2 separate regions of the Homo sapiens genome follow, and region 1 is linked to region 2. Evidence: promoter capture Hi-C in human tissues and cell types (Jung and others, 2019). All regions are on one chromosome and are shown on one strand. Each heading gives the region's core, a stretch centred on a gene start or on the middle of the fragment in contact. The rest is flanking DNA. Distances are from core to core; before and after follow the strand shown.

What was found. The method cuts DNA at HindIII sites, captures the fragments that hold promoters and counts their contacts. A contact is called where the count stands out against the background at its distance.
Region 1: a fragment that was not itself captured here is called in contact with the fragment with the promoter of DNAJC12 in region 2 in 2 of the 25 tissues and cell types used here (mesendoderm cells and thymus).

The regions. Positions count from the first base shown.
Region 1 is chr10:67,961,052-67,967,095 of GRCh38, forward strand. HERC4 (HECT and RLD domain containing E3 ubiquitin protein ligase 4) reads right to left here. Exons shown (of 25, transcript NM_015601.4): 16 at 5,632-5,751. It also overlaps the pseudogene RPS3AP38. Among named protein-coding and RNA genes, the nearest start is that of SIRT1, 79 kb to the left of the region's middle. The HindIII fragment of the contact is 5,776 bases long and covers 842-6,044 here.
Region 2 is chr10:67,835,479-67,841,857 of GRCh38, forward strand. DNAJC12 (DnaJ heat shock protein family (Hsp40) member C12) reads right to left here and starts at 2,710. Exons shown (of 5, transcript NM_021800.3): 1 at 2,456-2,710. The coding sequence starts at 2,533. The HindIII fragment of the contact is 7,681 bases long and covers 1,671-6,379 here.

The DNA of each region.
Region 1 (6,044 bases), core at 2,480-4,979, 130 kb after region 2:
AAACCAACACAGAACAGATGAAGCAAATAACCATTAGTGGTCTTGACATTAACATGAGCTTCTTTCATGATCTACCAGTTTTTGGCCATGGAACTCATTTTGTCACAGGTAAGATCCATGCAATGGAAGTTAGGTCGTTTAGCGCCTCAACATCCTCAGTAGTCAGCTTGAATTTTTAAAATGCAATTTCATCATTCTGCAGATCAGAAAGGTTCACTTCAAATATACACAACACTTGAGGCCATCAGATATAATTTTGGTTCCTTGAGTCCTGGTGACTAGTGTTTCTCTCCAATATTTCTTATACTGAACACAGCACGTGCTTTCATATCATATCTATCTTTTTTAGAAAGTAGATTAACCACTTCTTTGCTCCCTATTTGTCACCTTTCATAAGGTGCTTGTTCTTGCCAAATGTCATGGTGCTGCTCAGAGAGTCAAAAAGACCCTTGGCTGATTTTAACCTATTATCCTTTCCCTGTAATAAACCCTAATCATCAGTGTAACAATTTTCAGTGAGTTCTGGGAGGCCTCGTAGCAAATTATCAAACCTAAGGGTAGTTTGGGGGACCCTCCCCAAACTCACAATTGGTATCAGAAGTGAGGGCAGTCTTGTGTAAACTGTTCTCTTTAACTTTGTAGTTGACTGAGTTCCCACGTGTCACCAGCGATATTATTGGAGGATTTAAGATATTAGCAAAGACTTTGGGTTCTCTCACTATATTAAGTAAAGCCAAAGCAGTGTAAGCATAAGCAAAACATCACTCTATGCAAACCCTATTCAGAGGAAGAATATTATTGACAAGAATTTCTTTAAAAAAATTCACAGTACCAAGTTATTACCACATAAATGCTCCAACTGGCAGTGTAAACAAGATGAAAGTCTTTAGAGACTGTTCTGCAAAAAAACCTTTCAGATTACACTCTGTTTAGCTAGAAGGCAATATAAAAGGAACATCTGAAATCCTTTTATAGTATACCTTGTGGGACTTTTTTTGAAAAAAGAACTTTATTATTTTAAAGCAGCTTTAGATTCACAGCAAAATTGAAAGTAAGGTGCAGAGACTTCCAATATACCCTTATCCTCACATATGCACAGCCTTCATATCACCAATATTCCTCTTGTAGGACATTTAAAAAGTGTTATTACTACTAAGAAAGTTTAAATAAGCAAAAAAAAAAAAGCCTATAAAAATTTATCTATGGCCTGCTTGATAACTATACTATATACCAAGGGAGTTTATAGTATGGGAGATCGATTTTCTCCTTAGCTAAACAATGAAATATTAGTATGTATGCATTATCTTTTTTACTACTACATGTAAGTAGATATAGATGTTATACATATCATTATACACTGGGGAAGTCAGTAAGATAATGTTAGAATTTATAGTGCGACTAACCCATACTAAGCAGAATATAATTTGGTTACACTAAAAATTGGGACAGAAAGATGTGAACTGGCAAGAATATGAAAAATAATAGGACGTGAAAAACTTCAGAAAAAGAGAGATGATTAGACATTAGGTATAATCATTTTTCTAAGAGAGAGAGGCACCAAAGGGAAAACCAGATAAAGATAATTAACTAAAAGTATCAGAAAGGGAAGAAAAAATAGCAAAGAGTTTGGTAGTAACCAATAAGGTATTTTTACAAACAATTTAAAAGCAAAGTTAAAGGAGGATAAGGAAACTGAGAATAGTACCTAGAAAATGCTCTTAGAAAATGTTTCATTATAGTGCACATAGAGAAAGGCAGCAAGAGAACAGAGTTATTAGACACGTCAGAATAAAAGCTACTGCCAAATTTGTAGCCTGTGTCAAGGTAGCCAGCAACAATAATCACCATTTTATAAAGACTTAACTGTGTGCCAGAAATTACTCTAAGTCCTTCACAGGGATCATATAAATTAATCTTCTCAAAACTTTTTAAGGTAGGTACTAATATCCTAATTTACAGAAAACAAAATGAAATCTCAGAGAAATTAAGTAATTTTCCCAAGGACAGAACTGAATATATGCTGAGGTGGGATTTGAATCCAGGCACTCTCATAAAAGTTACTCTGCTTTCTCATCATACATATTTATGTTGTGAGTTAGAATTCTTCATCATTACAACATTCTCCATAATAAATTAACTTAATTTGCCAATTTGTAATGTTATTTACTATTTATTTATTTTTTGAGATGGAGTCTCACTCTGTTGCCCAGGCTGGAGTGCAGTGGCGTGATCTCAACTCATTGCAACCTCCACCTCCCGGGTTCAAGCCATTCTCCTGCCTCAGCCTCCTAAGTAGCTGGGATTACAGGTGCCCGCCACGATGCTTGGCTAATTTTTGTATTTTTAGTAGAGACGGGGTTTCGCCATATTGGCCAGACTGGTCTAGAACTTCTGACCTCAGGTGATCTGCCCACCTCGGCCTCCCAAAGTGCTGGGACGTGAGCCTCCGCACCTGGACTGTAATGTTATTTATAATTATAAATTTGCTGTGGTCTTAGAGTTCTTTTAAGAGCTAAACACCAAGAGTTTAGAACTAGTTTAATGTGTGTATATATTTATATAATATGTAAGTGAACACTGGGCTTCTTAAGAAATTGTTCTTCTTTAAAAGGGTCCACATATCCCTCCAAATGTTCTGAATCCTTTCAAAAACACTGCTAAAAGACCTAGGGTACCCTGGTTGGTGTGTGAGGGTTTATATGCAAAGTCTTGGTATGAACAAGGTTCATTTCCTGAAGAATCAATTTTCCTCAATGACAAATAAATTAAATCTCTTTTATACTGCAATATCTATTATGCCCATAATGCAAAATTTGCATTTAAAGATAGAAAATTAGCCTCAGTTCAAGTCTTGCTGAGGGAAGGTTAAATCCTTAAGAAATATGTTATTTCTCCTGCCATCACAGGTTCTCTAAAGGAAGAGTTTGAGAAGCTTTACCTAGGTCAGAGATGAAGAAAAAAGGAAATATTTATTCAAAACTGCTGAGGTCAATTATTTTCTTTCTTAAAAAATTATCCCTTGATTCCAGCTACCACTCCATTTTTTTTTTTTTTTTTTGCTCCTCTTCAATGCAGAACTTCGTCAAAGTATTGCCAATGGTTGTTACTGCTTCCTTACCTCTAAATTTCTCTTTACAACATCCCAACCCAAGAATGGTATTATCAAGGTTACCAATTACCTTCATGTAACCAAATTCACTGTCAATTCTAAGGTTTCATCCTCCTCCTCTGCAGCATTCAACAGTCTCTCTTTCACTTTTAAATTTTGGTTTCCAAGACTCTCCTAGTTTTCCCTCTACCACACCTGCTTTTTAATCTTTGTGGATTTCTCTCCTTTCCTCACTTCATATCCAATCCATCAGTGATTTTTATTTTCCTTTTGTCTCCAAGATTCCCTTTTATCTCCAAGACATATTCCATTTCCTTCTTCCATCTAAATAACCATCATCCTAGTCAAACCCATCATTTCCTCTCCCCTAATCTACTAAAATATAGCTTTCTCATGGATTTCCGTCTTTCATTTCTGTCCCGTTCCCTACACAGCCAACAAAGTGATCATTCAAAAAGATCAGATTAAGTTTCCCCTGTTTATCATTAACACTTTAGATAAAATCCAAATTCCTAATCCTAGTTTACTAAACTCTCTATGATCTGGCCCCTGCCCATTTCTCTGTTCCCTCCTCACTCCCATAAGCCATGCTGGCTGTTTTCCTTTCTTTCTTTCTTTCTTTTTTTTTTTTGAAAGGAGTCTCACACTGTCGCCCATGCTGGAGTGCAATGGTGCAATCTAAGCTCACTGCAACCTCCACCTCCTGGGTTCAAGCAATTCTCCTGCCTCAGCCTTCCAAGTAGCTGGGATTACAGGCGCCCACCACCATGCCTGGCTAAGTTTTTGTATTTTTAGTAGAGACGGGGTTTCACTATGTTGGTCAGGCTGGTCTTGAACTCCTGACCTCGTGATCTGCCCACCTCGGCCTCCCAAAATGCAGGGATTCCAGGCGTGAGCCACCACACCTGGCCTAATGCTGGCTTTTTTCTGTCCTTCAATCATGTCAAGCTTGTTTTCACCTCAGGTATTTTACCAAATGTTCGTTGTTCTTGAAATTCTCTCTGCCCTGATCTTAAAGGGCTGCTCCTTGTCATTCAGATTAGTACTCATACTTCATTAGATAAGTCTTTTCTGAAACCTATCTTTACTAAGTCCCCTCATTTTAATAATACATATTATTAGCTGGTATTTTTTGCTTTGTTTGACTATTGCCAATCTTGCCCAGTAGATTACGAATTCCATGAGAAACAAGGCTCTGTCTGGTTCACCACTGTATTTCCAATACCTAAATCAGTGCCTGTTATATAACAGATTCTCATTGTTTGTTGAATAAGCAAATGAATAGACCTAAATCTATAGAATGGCTATAAACCTGACCCAGCCTCAAAGTGACTCAGGAGAAAAGTCAATGAGTCTCTCCCAGTCCAGACCCAAGTACACTAGGGAAGGAAAAGATGTCTAGAAGCAACCTGATTCCGGAAGGTGGGAGTATCCTAAAAACAGCGTGCACTAACCAGATTGCCATTCAAAAACTACTGTACTTTTTTAGTGCTTACTAGACATATTCTAGACACTGTCAGAGGTGCTGGTTGACTGACAAGAGCACCCATCCACAAGGAGCTTACAGCTGGTGCCTAGCAAGCAATGAAAAGTTACTCACCCTTCTATTATATAACTGCTGCACACATATTAAATTACCTGGGTACAGAAAAGTGGGCCTCAAGTATACACAAATGGCTAGCAAATAAGAGTAGTAAACCTAAATATTTTGTATCTAACTGCTTACCCATTTCTGCATTAAAATTTTATGTGCCTAATTCAAGTTTTATAAGACCATGGTACTATTTTAATGGGATAGTGTCTAGTTATTAAAGACTTAGCTGCATAAAAAGATGTACGCACCCACATTTATATTAAAAATCTGAAATAAAAGTAAACACATAATCGGCTCACTGCAACCTCCATCTCCCAGGTTCAAGTGATTCTCATGCCTCAGCCTTCTGAGTAGCTGGGATTACAGGCATGTGCCACCACACTTGGCTAATTTTTTGTATTTTTAGTAGAGATGGGATTTCGTCATGTTGCCGAGGCTGGTCTTGAAATCCCGAGCTCAGGGAATCCACCTGCCTCAGGCTCCAAAGTGCTAAGATTACAGGCATGAGCCACCACACCCAGTCCTCTTTTGGTAGTCTTGAAGCACCAATTTCACAACAATAATGCATTCTTAGGAGTTCCAGTATGAAGAATGCCAGTATTTTCAACACTGGAGAAATAAGAGGCAACCTCATGGAAAATAAAAGAGTTAAAAATCCATTTCACACTTGTAGGTTTTTTTTGTCTTGTTTTGTTTTGTTTTACAGTGTAATCCATTTCTTTGGTTTGGCTTTGGTAAAAGAGTAGAATGTTTGCATATAAATATTGTAAAATATATAGCACTCCTTTGCAATGTGTTATTATTTAAAAAGTAAGTTCTGGATAAAAGTTCTGAAAAAACTTTCTCATTTCAAAACCAAGCAATTGTTTCTTTTTTTATTAGATACATATACATAAAAATGAAATCACAAATTGCACAGAAAACCTACCATTCCATAGGCCTGCTGTTGGACCCAGTTGATATAATCATTTCTTATGTCTATCAATTCTTGTACTTCATGTATATAAAATTTATCATACTGTATAATCTGTCCCATTTTCTCATTTACCTACAAAAGAAAATGTAATTGACATTAAATTTAACCAGTACTCAAGACAGACAAATTTTTTTTATTTTTTGAGACGGAGTCTCACTCTGTCAACCAGGCTGGAGTGCAGTGGCACAATCTCAGCTCACTGCAAGCTCTGCCTCCCGGGTTCACGCCATTCTCCTGCCTCAGCCTCCTGAGTAGCTGGGACTACAAGCACCCGCCATCATGACCGGCTAATTTTTTGTATTTTTAGTAGAGACGGAGTTTCATCGTGTTAGCCAGGATGGTCTCGATCTCCTGACCTTGTGATC
Region 2 (6,379 bases), core at 1,460-3,959:
CAAGAGATGAAGACCATCCTGGCCAACACGGTGAAACCCCGTCTCTACTAAAAATACAAAAATTAGCTAGGCATGGTGGCATGTGCCTGTAGTCCCAGCTACTCAGGAAGCTGAGGAAGGAGAATCACTTGAACCTGGGAGGCGGAGGTTGCAGTGACCTGAGATTGCACCACTGCACTCCAGCCCGGCAACAGAGTGAGACTCCATCTCAAAAAAACAAAAAAAAGAGAGAAAAAATGACACACACACACACACACACACACACACACATATATATAAAGAAGTGACAATATTATGACAAACATTTCATTAAAAATAAATAATTGTTATCTAGATATGATATGCCATTGACAGACCAGTAAAATACATCCAGTAAAAGGAATGTTGAGACAAGGAAGTATGACTCCACCTGGTAACCATATTTTGAATATTACACATTAACAACGAGATTATTTTCTGTAAGGCTGTCCAAAATGAATCCTCCTTCTATGTAGATTGAAAAGACAACAGCATAACTTCAAAAGACTGACTATGCAGCCATAAAAAAGAATGAGTTCATGTCCTTTGCAGGGACATGGATGAAGCTGGAAACCATCATTCTCAGCAAACTAACACAGGAACAGAAAACCAAACACCACATGTTCTCACTCATAAGTGGGAGATGAACAATGAGAGCACATGGACACAGGCAGGGGAACATCACACACCGGGGCCTGTCGGGGGGTGGGGGAGAAGGGGAGGGACAGCATTAGGACAAATACCTAATGTATGCGGGGCTTAAAACCTAGATGATGGGTTGATAGGTGCAGCAAACCACCCTGGCACATGTGTATCTATGTAACAAACCTGCACATTCTGCACAGGGATCCCAGAACTTAAAGTAAAATTGAAAAAAAAAAAAAAGGACTGACTAAATAGGTCACAAGATTATGGAGATATAATGACCCTTACTGTATAAGCTAGCATGTATTTTTTTAAATCCAAATTGTCAGCCTTATCAAGTTAAATTATATTCCTTTGATTTTAAATTATTCCTTCAAAAATTGTTTGATAATAGTATAATTTCAACTGTGAATAACACATGGTAAAAATGGTAATAAGCTTTCTCAATTGCTATAAGCAAATCACCACCAACATAAACAAGAATAACACATTCTTGAGAAGAAATATGCAACTAAAAGACCATTATAAGCTATTCTGGGGGCGGGGCAGTTTTTTTAATTTCAACGTGTCTAAGATAACTTCCTCAGCATGGCAAAAATAGAGATTTTAATCCTTTGTGTCCAGTAATGCATTCTATTCTTAAAACAAAACTAAGCACATTTTATTAATGAACTACTGCCTTTATGAAACAACAATAAATATAAAAACATTTTGCTTTACAATGTTAATTTTACTACTTAGATTTTAATAAAAATAAATAAAATAAAATACATTAATTATAAAACATAAATATATCCTAATAACATGATTTAATAATATATAATTTAATAATGAATATATTTTATATTAATCTCAACATTATTTGAAATATTGAAAAATTGGAAATAAAATATTTAACAATAAGAGAATAATTCAACTGTGGTAACACAGCAAAATAAAATATTTTGCAACCACTAAAAAGTGTACAAGGAAAGTTTAATAGCATGGAAAATTCCTTGTTATAATACGAATGGGTAAAAAGCAGGAATCAACAAGTACATATAATATCCTCCCAAACAGGTCTTTAAAGAATATACATAGAAAGAATAGTGGAGATTAATATGCCAAAATATTAATACTGTTATCCTTGGGAGAGAGAATTATAAATGATTTTTCCATAATTTAAAAAACCTCTACAACCTTTATAATTGTTTATTGAGAACTTTAAAAATTTTGTTTTCTTACAGATCCAGTGAACAGCTACAGAGTTTTCACATGTTTTGTTTCAGAAGCCACCCTTTCAAGAAGTAATTTCTGTCACACAATTTGAAATATTAACATAAAGGGATGCTTCTTTGTTTCTATTTTGACTGCTCACATAGGAGTACACATTTTAATAAAATATATTAAAATCCCTAATTTTATAAGAAATTTCATTTCACCTCAATTATGAGTCACCATAATAAAGGTATAGCTTATATATACTGTGAAACACTGCCATCAGAAATTACAATAAAATTTCAAATATTTATTTTTAATATACTATATTGTGAAACAGCATATGGCCATGTGCCAGAATACACATATTTAATCAGAAGCTTCCGTAAAATTCCCATAGGACACTATTCAAGTAAAATCCCAACATACATTTAAATTCTTAACTTTCTCTGAGCCAAAAGTGCTTTAAAACAACACAAGGTTAGGTTTGTAGGCAATGTGACTAAAAATTCAAAGTTAAAACCTTAAATAAAAACTTGAAATACTATTGTGAAAAAGAATACTGTTGTGATAAAAATATTATCCACTGTCTTACCGAAGATAGTTCATCACATCCCAGTAATGTGTAGTAATCTTCAGTATCTTCTGACCTGTAATTCAGTATTGCATCCATTTAGATGACTTAATCAGTCCTTCTTCCCTCGGAAACAAGAGGCACAGTGAGCTTCGAATTAACAGGAAGAAACTCTTTAAATCTGAATTAGAGCAGCATGTTCCACATAGCAAAAACTAGCTTTAAGACTGGCCACAGTCAATACACCAGATGTCATCCTAGACCTTTGTAAACTCTGCCTCTCATTGGCTGTTTACAGAGAAGAAAAGAACAGTCCACGTGTCTATTATTGCAGTGCTGCCTGGGATCTGTAGTTTGAGTTTATATAAGAGATGCATGTGAACCATTTGTCTTATGAGTTAATAAAGACTGTCTATTTTCAGAAACTTGCCACATTAGCCACTTCTCCATCTCCTATATATTTTTGTCTCTATCCTTTAAAAAAAAAAAAGAAAAAAAATGTGAAGCAATGTGGTAAAATCTTAGGATGTGTTAATAAGGATAATGGGAGCTTTTCTTAGTGTTTAAAATACTTAATTTTATTTTTTATTTGTTTATTTTCAGACAAGGTCTCACTCTGTTGCCCAGGCTGGAGTGCAGTGGTGCAGTCTCAGCTCACTGCAACCTCTGTCTCCCCAGCTCAAGCGATCCTCCCACCTCAGCCTCCCTAGTAGCTGGGACCACAGGCACATAGCACCATGTCCAGCTAATTTTTGGTTTTTGTTTTGTTATGTTTTAAGAGGAGGGGGTTTTGCCATGTTGCCCAGCCTGGTCTCGAACTCGTGAGCTCAAAGCGATCTGCCTGCTTCGGCCTCCCAACGTGCTGGGATTACAGGCATGATCCACAGCGCCCAGCCAATAACACAGTCTTGATTTTTATGGAGCTTACGCTCTGATGGAGGAAGACAGCTGAAAAACATGCAAAAAAAAAAAAAAAAAAAAAAAACACGATCATTTAAAATAGTGATTTGTAAGCCAGGCATGGTGGCCCACACCTGTAGTCCAGCTACTTGGGAGGCTGAGGCAGAAGAATCACTTGGACCCAGGAGGCAGAGGCTGTAGTGAGCCGAGATGGTGCCACTGCACTCCAGACTGCGCTACAGAGCAAGACTCCATCTCAAAAAATAAAAAAATAAAATAGTGATTTGTGCTTTAGAGAAAATAAAATAGGACAATGAGAAGAACTGTATGATAACTCGGGTCAGATGGCTGTGCTATTTCTCCTGGGTTGGTTCTCCAGACTCAGGAGTGTCTCTAGTCTGAGGTAGGTCCAGGCAATTTATGTTTCAGTTCATTTTGGCCCTAAGAAACACAGTTCAGGTCTGGGATTTAGAGAACAAGGTGAGTGGTCAGGGACACAACACTTTGACTGCCTTAACACTTTTTTTGTTTCATTTTTCAGAGAGACAGGGTCTCGCCATATTGCCCAGATTGGTCTTAAACCCCTGGACTCAAGTGATCCTCCCACTTTGGCCTCCCAAAGTGCTGCGATTACAGATGTGAGCCAACATGCCTGGCCCTTAACACTTTAAATTCCCCCACCTGAGGGGAAAAAATAGTTTTTCTTTTAGCCCACCTATATACATCTTTTTAAAGGTTTATTTCTGAAGAGAAGCAAGAAAAAGCACTGAAACACCATTTTTTACTAATCCTTCATTGTACATGCTGTCTTGCTAAAAGTTCTATATAGAATTTTAAGGCCAGGCACGGTGGCTCATGCCATAATCCCAGCACTGGGAGACCGAGGCGGGCGGATCACGAGGTCGGGGGTTCGAGACCAGCCTGACCAATGTGATGAAATCCTGTCTCTACTAAAAATACAAAAATTAGCCAAGCATGGTGGCACGCACCTGTAGTCCCAGCTACTCAGGATGCTGAGGCAGGAGAATTGCTTGAATCTGGGAGGCGGAGGTTGCAGCGAGCCGAGATCGTGCCACTGGACTCCAGCCTGGGTGACAGAGCCAGGGTCCATCTCAAAAAAAAAAAAAAAAATTAGATCACAATATCTTGATCTAAATCACTGATAAATGGCCTTTTAATGATGTGAAGTTGCCATGGTGGAAAGCAGTATGGTGGTTCCTCAAAAAATTAAACATAGAACTACCATGTGACCCCACAATTCCACTTCTGGGTAAATACACAAAAGAATTGAAAGCAGGAACTTGAAAAGATATTTATATACTCATGTTCATCAAGGCATTAGTCATAATAGCCAAAAAGTGGAGGCAATGCAAGTGTCCATCAACGGATGACTAAACAAATGGAATGTTAGGGCTGGGCATGGTGGCTCACACCTGTAATCCCAGAACTTTGGGAGGCCGAGGCAGGCAGATCACTTGAGGCCAGGAGTTCGAAACCAGCCTGGCCAACATGGCAAAACTTCATCTCTACTGAAAATACAAAAAAGTTAGCTGGGTGTGGTGGCACATGCCTGTAATTTCAGCTACTTGGGAGGCTGAGGCACGAGAATTGCTTGAACCCAGGAGGTGGAGGCTGCAATGAGCTGAGATCACACCACTGCACTCCAGCCTGGGTGACAGAGCACGACCTTGTCTAACACAAACAAACAAAAAAGTGTGGTATTGGCCAGTTGCAGTGGCTTATGCCTGTAATCCCAGCACTTTGAGAGACCAAGGCAGGAGGATTGTTTGAGCCCAGGAGTTCAAAACCAGCCTGCGCAACATAGTGAGACTCTGTCCTTATTTTTATATTAATAATATAATTTTTTTTTTGAGACAGAGTTTCACTCTTGTTGCCCAGGCTGGAGTGCAATGGTGTGATCTTGGCTCACCGCAACCTCCACCTGGGTTCAAGTGATTCTCCTGCCTCAGCCTCCTGAGTAGCTGGGATTACAGGCATGTGCCACCATGCCCGACTAATTTTGAATTTTTAGTAGAGATGGGGTTTCTCCATGTTGGTCAGGCTGGTTTCAAATTCCAGACTTCAGGTGATCCACCCGCCGTGGCCTCCCAAAGTGCTGGGATTAGAGGGGTGAGCCACTGTACCCGGCTTAAAAGTTTTTAAAGTGTGTGGTATCTTCCCCCTGGCTCTCTTACTCCTGTTCTCACCATGTAACATGTCTACTCCCACTTCACCTTCTGCCATAAGTAAAAGCTCCCTGAAGCCTACCCAGAAGCTGAACGGATGCTGGCTCCATGCTTCCACATTCTGCAGAACTGTGAGCCAATTAAACGTCTTTTCAGTATAAATTACCAAGTCTTAGGTATTCCTTCATAGCAATGCAAGAATGGCCTGACACAAAAAATTGGTACCAAAGAGTGGGGCCTTGCTATAAAGATACCTGACAAAGTGGGAGCAGCTTTGAAACTGGGTAATGGGCAGAGGCTGGAAGACTTTGGAGGGCTCACAAGAAGACAGGAAGATGAGGGAAAGTTTGGAACTCCTGCAAGACTGGTTAAATGGTTGTGACCAAAATGCTGACGGTGATATGGACAGTGAAGTCCAGGCTAATGAGGTCTCAGATGGAAATGAGGAACTTATTGAGAACTGGAATAAAGGTCACTCTTGTTATGCCTTACCAAGGAACAAAGCTATATGGTATTCATGCCCTAGGAATCTGTGGAAGTTTGAACTTAAGAGTGATGACTTAGGGTATCTGGCAGAAGAAATTTCTAGGCAGCAAAGTGTTCAAGAAGTGACCTGGCTGCTTCTAACAGCCTATCCTCAGATGCAGAAGCAAAGAAATGACTTAAAGTTGGAACTTATATTTAAAGGGAAAGCAGAATGTAAAAGTTTGGAAAATTTGCAACCTAGCCATGTGGTAGAAAACAAAAACCCATTTTCAGGGCAAGAATCTAAGCAGACTGCAGAGCAACCACTTGCTAAAGAGATTTGCATAAATGAAAGGGAGCCAGGTCAGAGGCTGATAGACAAGACAATGAGAAA